2 separate regions of the Homo sapiens genome follow, and region 1 is linked to region 2. The links are contacts of gene promoters, found by promoter capture Hi-C in blood cells and fetal thymus (Javierre and others, 2016). All regions are on one chromosome and are shown on one strand. Each heading gives the region's core, a stretch centred on a gene start or on the middle of the fragment in contact. The rest is flanking DNA. Distances are from core to core; before and after follow the strand shown.

Region 1 (4,311 bases), core at 485-2,984, 120 kb after region 2:
AACAGAGCTCAAAGACAAATAGTCTTGGACGGGGCGGCCTGGGAACAACAGGAGGAGGAGGATTAGATTCTCATTTCCCACTCCTCAGATACCCTCACCTTGGCTGGAGAGACCGAGGGAGGAGTGGGCAGGGAACAGAGGGAACAGCAGTCAAGGCTGACTGCTGTGCCAGGGTCCTCACCGTCCACATCCCGAAGGCCATAGCGTCGAGCAAGGTCACAGGATGGCAGCACCTTACCACTCAGGCTCAGGATATTGGGATCTGCGGGCACACAGACAGGTGGAGATGGCAGGCAGGGGAGTATGCAGAGTGACAAGGTTTGGGCCCAGTTGGACAGGGCACTGCTGAGAGCCCTGGAGCTCAGGATCCCTGGAGAGCTCTTTCTCTTGGGCCTTGGACTTTTTCCACACTTCCCAGGAGCCTGCTCCTAAGGCTCTCAGACCTCAAACTGGGAATGCTGACCCCTTGGGCCTCAAAAAGCAGAGAAAAGAATGACATGTTCCTCAACCAACTCCCGAGCCAGATCTGGGCACTGGATGCTACCGCACTACACATCCTCCATGCCCTTTCTTATTACCAGCTGCCCCCAAACTTCACCTGTTGCCAAAGCCACCACACATTTGCCACTCAATTCTGTGGTTTCCGCAGATGAGAAGGCTGATTTGAACTGAAACACAGGGGCAGAGAAGTGAAGGGTTAATTTCCAAGAGCACTGCCCAGGTCTCCTCCCCATTTCAACTTCTGTTCCAGGAGAAAAAGACCAAAGACCAAAGAGGCCAAAGACCTCAAGCAGGGCCTGTAGGACCCAAAGTATTGGCAGGTGCCAGAGCCACTCCTCCCCACATCCAGGTGAGCCCTGTGCCCTGGCACCAGGATCTGCTGTCTTTGCTAAGTGGAAGGATCTGGTAGTGCCAAATAGTGTTTGGACCTTCTAAGCTAGCTGGTGTGGGGGTCAAGTGCATGGTCTTTGGAGCTAGACAGCCTTTCCACTTAGGACATATGTGACCTTCAACAAGTTTCTAAACCTCTCTGGGTTTCAGTTTTGCCATCTGTAGAATGGAGCTGGTATCTCCCTTACAGGATTAAAGGAAATAATGTGTGTCCCATGCTCAGCCCTGCACCTGCCACAGTAAGCACCTGGTGAGTGGGAGTATCTGATCTTGTTATTGAGGATGCAGAGGCCGACTCCCCTGTTCTCTGCTTCCTTCGCCCTCCCCTTGCCAACCTGCTTCAACACAGGATCCTGCAGGACCTCCTCCTTTGCCATATGCTCCTTCAGCAGTTCTGTCTGCACAATCCCCGGCCACAGAGACACACAGCTGACCCCATGGCGCCGCAGCTCGTGGGCACAGTCAGCAGCCAGCTTGTCACACTGTGGAGAGGCGGAAGGCAGGGTAAGAGCCACCTAGCCATGTCACTTTCCTGCCCTGCCCTCTCTGCTTCTACTGTGAATGCTCCACCCACCCTGTCCTTCCCAGGAGCCCCAAGGTCTCAGCTGCCCACGCTCCCCAGTGTGATGCCTACTCTAGCCAACCAAGAGGAGCACAAGCAAAGGAACTGTCCATGGATGAGGCAGAGGAGGAGCTGAGAGGAGCCAGCCTTACCATTCTGACCACTGGGGATTGTACCTCCTGAGCTATAGGTAACATCACTGTCTTTTACCTCCTCAGCTCCTATGCCACTGGGTCCTCACCGCAGCTTTGCCCACACCATAGGGGACATTGAACATATACTGCAGGCTTCCTGGGGAGGAGATGACCACGATGAGCCCCTGGCCAGCTGGTACCATCAGCCGTGCCCCATACACTGAGCAAAAGTAGTGGCCTCTAGAAGGTGGGGCAAGGGAAGAAGGAATGAACCGTGTTAGTGCTGGCCTGGGTGCCACAGCCTCTGGCGGCTTCCCCTGCCTTCTGGTGGTTGTTGTCCACTAGGAAGGCTACACAGGGTGGGTTAGCGACCTGAGGAATTAGGGGCTTGAGGCCATATTCTGAGAGGAAAACTGGTCAAAATAACCACTGACAGATGAGAAACAGCAATCTTTGGAAGAAGAAATGGAACGCAAGAGCCCTGTCACAATAACAATTACAAACAAAATTGTTCAGGGGGAGAAAACTTAAGAAATGTATAGTGTCTACATAGAAAAACTATAAAACCATGACAATAAGTACAGACAAAATCTTTCAAAGCTAAGAACTGACATGTAAATCATCATTTCTATGTAAATCAATCCATAGATTCAGTCAAATTGGATTATAGCTCAATAAGACCTTTTGGAGGAATTGATAAAATAATCTAAAGCTCAATGAGAAGAATAAACGTGAGAACAGCCAGAAAAGCTGGGCACGGTGGCTCACGCCTGCAATCCCAGCACTTTGGGAGGCGAGGGGGGCAGATCACTTGAGCTCAGGAGTTTGAGACCAGCCTGGCCAACGTGGTGAAAGCCCATCTGTACTAAAAATACAAAAATTAGCCAGGTGTGGTGGTACGTGCCTATAGTCCCAGCTACTCGGGAGCCTGAGGCAGGAGGATCTCTTGAGCCCAGGAGGCGGAGGTTGCAGTAAGCTGAGATTGTGCCACTGCACTCTAGCCTGGCTGACAGAGTGAGATTGTCTCAAAAATAAATAAATAAATAAAAAGAAAGAGAACAGCCAGGAAAATTCCGAAAAAAGGACTAAAAAGACTAATGTCTTGTGGGTGAGGGGGATTGCTTTCCCTACCCCTGCTGTCACCCATATTAAAATGCACAGGGGCCAGGCATGGTGGCTTATGCCTGTAATCCCAGCATTTTGGGAGGCTGAGATGGGAGAATTGCTTGAGGTCAGGAGTTTGAGACCAGCCTGGCCAACACAGCAAGACCCCGTCTCTAAAAAATAAAATAAAATAAATTAAAATGTACAAGACATAATAGTTAAAAGAATGCAATACAGGTGTTAACAGTAGACTGATAAGTCAATGAAACAAAACAGAGAATAATTAGATACAAGTGTATGTGAGAACGCAATGTATTACGAAAGGAACCTGTCAAATCAGTGGGGGAAAGTTGGATCATTTGGGACAACCGACCAGTTATTTGAGTTAGGGGAATTGGGTCTCTGCCTCGTTTATTATTTTAAAATTAAGCCTAAAAGGATCAAATATTTAAATATAAAAAACGAAAGCACAGAAGTACTGAAAGAAAACATGATCAAATGTGTTTATAAACTTGAGGGAAAAGGCTTTTATTAGCGTCACACCAAGACAGAAACTATAAAAGACTGACAGATTTGACGTAAAATTAAGATACACACACATACACACACAAATACAAAGATACATGTATATTTCTGTGTATATAAAGAGCAGGGCGAGGCTGAGTATGGTGGCTCATGCCTATAATCCCAACACTTTGGGAGGCTGAGGTGGGTAGATCACTTGAGATCAGGAGTTCGAGACCAGCCCAGCCAACACGGTGAAACCCCGTTCTCTACTAAAAATACAAAAATTAGCCAGGCGTGGTGGCAGGTGCCTGTAATCCCAGCTACTCGGGAGGTTGAGGTATGAGAATCGCTTGAACCCAGGAGGCAGAGGTTGCAGTGAGCTGAGATTGCACACTGCACTCTAGCCTGGGTGACAGAGCGAGATTCCACCTCAAAACAACAACAACAACAACAACAACAACAACAACAACAGACGAGTGGGGGGAGTATGCGTGTGAAAAATGAGTGATAAATTGGGAAAAATATTTGTAAAATAAATGCCAAAGTCATTTGTTTCACAGTGATCTCTTATAAATTAATGCGAAAGTCAAAGATGATTTACAAAAGAACAAAGAGCCAATAAACAAAGGGGAAAAAAAGTTCAACCTGACAAATAGTGGAAGAAGTATGAATTAAAACCCCTTTATATATTTTCGGCTTATTATAGTAACAAAGCTTGCCTGAGTGCATGAGCTGACGCTGCCTGGTGTGGTAGAGGACATGGGGAAACACATATTCCCCTTCATTGTCTTGATATAAAAAATTGGTAGGGTCTTTTTGTAGGAGAGCTTGATAATATTTATTAAATCTTTAAAAAGTACATATTCTTTGTTTTCTTTTCTTTTTTTCTATTTTTCCCACAGTCTCTATAACCTAAGGGAAGTACATATTCTTTGATCTAAGAATTCCACTGCTGCAACAAATAAGGGATTAGAGAAATAAATGATCATACATCCTCCCAATAGAATACGTACAAGTATTAAAAAGAATGAGAGATATTTACATGAAAAATCTGAAAGAATATATGCCAGGCTATTAATAGTAGCTATATATCAGGCAAGAGAGCAAGGGATG
Region 2 (4,514 bases), core at 1,343-3,842:
AAAAGCCCAAATCCCCATAAGGACCTCTGAGGTCCTGTGATGCGACCCTACCCTCCTCTCTCTCTCTCTCTCGCCCCTTGCCATTCTTCCCCTGTCACTTTGCTCCAGGCTCCTTGAACCCACCAAACACATTTCTACCTCAGGGTCTTTGCATTTGCTGGTTCTTTTGTCTAAATTACTCTTCCTTCAGGTAGGCACATGACTTACCCACATTCTTCAAATTTTATCTCTTAAGAGAGGGGGCAAGGCTTCCCTGAGTACCCTCCCTAAATAGCAGCCGTCATTATTCTATCCTCCTATGCTGCCTCATTTTCTTCATAGCACTTACGGCCACTTCATGTATTTCTTTTTTTCTTTCTTTCTTTTTTTTTTTTTTTTTGACAGAATCGCCCATGCTGGAGCACAGCAGTGCAATCATGGCTCACTGCAGCCTCGACCTTCGGCTCAATCGATCCTCCTGTCTCAGCCTTCTGAGTAGCTGTGACTATAGGCATGTAATTTGAGAGGCCGAGGCGGGTGTCACCTGAGGTCAGGAGTTTGAGACCAGCCTGGCCAACATGGTTGAAACCCTGTCTCTACTAAAAATACAAAAAAATTAGCCAGGCATAGTGGCACATGCCTGTAGTCCCAGCTACTCAGGAGGCTTAGGTAGGAGAATTGCTTGAACCCAGGAGGCGGAGGTTGCACTGAGCCAAGATGGTCCATTGCACTCCAGCCTGGGCGACAAGCAAAATTCCATCTCAGAAAAAAAAAAAAAAAAAAAAAAAAAAAACTCTCAAATTGAAGGGGACTGTAAGAAGATAGGGTCAGCTCAGCTGCAGTAAGATATAAGTCTCAGGAAGAAGCATGCTCTGGAGTCAAGGCAGAGAAGGACATTCTAGGCCAAAGAAATGGCTGTGCAAAGGTAGGAGGCATAGGGACAAGGGTTATTATTACAACTGTACCTCTTAAATTTACACAATAATTGTTGAGAATATGGCTTTTCCAGGCTAGGAAGTTGTGCTGCATCCAAAAATGCTAAAGTCTATTTCAGCCGGGAGAACACTGACAGCTGGGAAAGGACCACACGTGGCGTGCCCATAACCTAAGTTGTTCAGATTTAGGAAGTGACCCCAGTAAGTCCTTTCGGAGTTTCGTGTAAGATTGACTTCTTCAGCTGGGGGCAGTGGCTCACGCCTGTAATCCCAGCACTTTGGGAGGCCAAGGCGGGCGGATCACCTGAGGTCAGGAGTTCGAGACCAGCCTGGCCAACATGGTGAAACCCCTGTCTCTACTAAAAAATACAAAATTTAGCCAGGTGTGGTGGTGGGCGCCTGTAATCCCAGCTACTCGGGAGCCTGAGGCAGGAGAATCCCCTGCACCGGGGAGGCGGAGGCTGCAATGAGCTGAGACTGCGCCACTGCACTCCAGCCTGGGTGACAGAGTGAAACTCCATCTCAAAAAAAAAAGAAACCAGCCTGGCCAACATAGTGAAATCCCGTCTCTTCTAAAAATGCAAAAATTAGTTGGGTGTGATGGAGGGCGCCTGTAATCCCAGCTACTCAGGAGGCCAAGACACGAGAATCGCTTGAACCTGAGGGGATGGGGGGCAGAGGATGCAGTGAGCCGAGATTGCCGAGATAGCGCCACTGCATTCCAGCCTGGGCAACAGTGAGAGCCTCCATCTCAAAAAAAAAAAAAAAAAATGGACTTCTTCCTCATTGACCTGTGGTGGCTCCAAGGCCATCAAAAAAAAAAAAAATGGACTTCTTCCTCATTGACCTGTGGTGGCTCCAAGGCCATCATCTCACAGCCTTTTTTTTTTTTTTTTTTTTTGAGACGGAGTCTTGCTCCCTTGCCCAGGTTGGAGTGGAGCTGCATGATCTCGGCTCACTGCAACCTCCGCCTCCCAGGTTCAAGCATTCTCCTGCCTCAGCCTCCTGAGTAGCTGGGATTACAGGCGCGTGCCACCACGCCCAGCTAACTTTTGCATTTTTAATAGAGACGGGGTTTCACCATATTGGTCAGGCTGGACTCGAACTCCTAACCTCATGATCCGCCCGCCTCGGCCTCCCAAAGTGCTAGGATTACAGGCGTGAGCCACTGCGCCCGGCCTCATCTCACATCTTTCTTCCTCTGCAGCACACGACACGCCCTAGTTGGAAACAAAGTCGGAGTTTGTGGATTGGGGGAAGGGCGGGGTCTAACCTCAGGTCAGGCGCCGTGCAAGGTACATCTTGGCACCCGGAAGAGGCCCAGTACAGTTGCCCCCGAGGTGACCCGACCTCCCCTACCAATTGAGGCGCCCTTGTTGCCAGGCTTGCGGCGGGGGAGCGGCGGGGGAGCGACGGGGATGCGCTCATTGGTCAAGGAAGGGGCGCCTGTTACTAGAGGCGAGAACCGGAGCCCATTGGTCGGAACACCTCACAATGGACCCCAGCGGCGCGCAAAATCCTTATGATTGGTTTGCTGGCTGCCTCGGGAGACCCTGTTGCCAGGATACTTGGCGTTCCCGACCCGACCCCCGTTCCCCATTGGCTGTCAGGGCAAAAGCCGCCATCTAATGAGGAGCGAGGTGCGGTGCCCCGAAGCGCTCGCTTCCCGCGGTGCGATCTAGTCCTGCAGTAGGCGGCCCGGGGCCACACCGCGGCCGCCCAAGCCAGTGCAAGGCCCAGGGGCCTGACATCGCTCCCAGCGCTCGAGGACCGAGGCCTGCTGTGGAGGACACCGTGCTCCCTCGGGACCTGCTCTGGATTCCGGCCCGGACGTCCCCTTGGAGCTCTGCATCTCCAACCTGGAACCCAACCCAGAAGTCTCAAGTTTGACGCATCACGTGGCGTGCGGATCCACTGAGGGTCCACAGAGAGGGGCGCCCATCTCCTGCGTCTCAGTTATCCTGGTAATTGTGTATCTGCCCATTGTTCGTTGCCTCATTAACTTGGCTTTCTAGGTGCACCCACCTTGCCACCAGAGAAGTCCAAATCCTGACTTCTCTCCAAGGTGTTGGGAATTCTGTGCCCTAAAGAATTCCGACTCAGATCCGAACGGGGATCTGGTGGAATCGAGGGTGAAAGACCAGAGGGACAATGTTCTACTATCCCAACGTGCTTCAGCGCCACACCGGCTGCTTTGCCACCATCTGGTAAGGGCGGGGCCCGTTGGCGCGCGATGGCGGACGCTGCCCGGGATCCCAGCCTGACAGCTCCCCCTCCATCCCCATTCTCCCACCTTCCCCACCCACTTCAGGCTGGCGGCGACTCGCGGCAGCCGGTTGGTGAAGCGCGAATACCTGAGGGTGAATGTGGTGAAAACCTGGTAAGGCCCAGAAAAGGGAAGGAGGGCCTGGTGCGGGGGGTGAGTTAGGGGATGGGGTGGCCAAGACTGTGGGCCCACTCCTGGACGCAGCGGTAATCAGGGCGCATTGTTCCCCAGCGAGGAAATCCTCAATTACGTGCTGGTACGAGTGCAACCCCCGCAGCCCGGCCTGCCGCGGCCCCGCTTCTCCCTCTATCTCTCAGCCCAACTTCAGATCGGTGTGATCCGCGTCTATTCTCAACAATGCCAGTACCTCGTGGGTAAGGCTGGGAACCCTCAAAGGTGGGGCGGGCTGAGCAGCTGTCTGCTAAGCTGGCTGTCTACCTCGTCCTCCCTGCCCACAGAGGACATCCAGCACATCTTGGAGCGCCTCCACCGTGCCCAGCTGCAGATCCGAATAGATATGGAGACTGAGCTGTGAGTGTGCCCTGGGCCTTTGATGGAACACCTGCTAGCTTGGCCTCAGCCTGGCTCAGCCTCAGTCCTTCACGGCCTACATTCTCTCCCAGACCCAGCCTGCTGCTTCCTAACCACCTGGCCATGATGGAGACCCTAGAAGATGCTCCAGATCCCTTTTTTGGGATGATGTCTGTGGATCCCAGACTTCCTAGTCCTTTCGATATCCCTCAGGTAGGGCTCATTCCCCAAGACTCGTGAATTGGCAATGCAGAAGGGGAGTGCTGTCCCTGTGTCACTCTGACATTGGGGTTGGGGAAGGAAGCTTACCACAGCTCTCTCCCACAGGAGATGGTGCAGGGGGACTGCCAAGGTGGACCCATCCAGGCGAAGCCCCCTGTACTTACCTACTCAGGGCCAATCTGATCAGACGGTTTCCCCACTGGAGGCAGCTCTTGTCCCCACTTGTCTCCACACTGTTTTCACTGCCAAGGCCCTAATCCAGGCTCTCATCTCTCTGCACTGGGCTTTCTTACCCCTGTCCTCCTCCATCTATTCCCAATACTCCTACAGCTTAATGTCACCCCCTTCCTTGGTTCCCCATTTGAACAGTGGCTCCTGCTGCAAACAGATTACTAGCATTTGGGGCTCTCCATGCCCCATTTATTTCTTTTTTTATTTTATTACTATTATTATTATTATTTTTGAGACAGGATCTTGCTCTGTGGCCCAGGCTGGAGTGCAGTGGCACGATCTCAGCTTACTGCAACCTCTGCCTCCCCGGTTCAAGCAATTCTCCTGCCTCAGCCTCCCGAGTAGCTGGG

The links. Contacts are between HindIII fragments. The CHiCAGO score rates a contact against its expected background, and 5 or more counts as called.
Region 1: a fragment that was not itself captured here is called in contact with the fragment with the promoter of REC8 in region 2 in 16 of 17 cell types (activated CD4 T cells, neutrophils, monocytes and 13 more); the score reaches 16.7 in activated CD4 T cells.

The regions. Positions count from the first base shown.
Region 1 is chr14:24,290,958-24,295,268 of GRCh38, forward strand. It overlaps DHRS1 (dehydrogenase/reductase 1), which reads right to left. Exons shown (of 9, transcript NM_001136050.3): 5 at 1,695-1,827; 6 at 1,227-1,373; 7 at 599-668; 8 at 182-262; 9 at 1-38. It also overlaps a transcript of NOP9 not described here. Among named protein-coding and RNA genes, the nearest start is that of DHRS1, 6.7 kb to the right of the region's middle. The HindIII fragment of the contact is 4,352 bases long and covers 1-3,910 here.
Region 2 is chr14:24,169,488-24,174,001 of GRCh38, forward strand. It overlaps REC8 (REC8 meiotic recombination protein), which reads left to right and starts at 2,593. Exons shown (of 19, transcript NM_001048205.2): 1 at 2,593-3,121; 2 at 3,226-3,294; 3 at 3,412-3,554; 4 at 3,639-3,711; 5 at 3,804-3,924. The coding sequence starts at 3,066. RefSeq lists enhancers at 2,005-2,505, 2,574-2,823 and a silencer at 2,354-2,403. The HindIII fragment of the contact is 5,740 bases long and covers 1-4,013 here.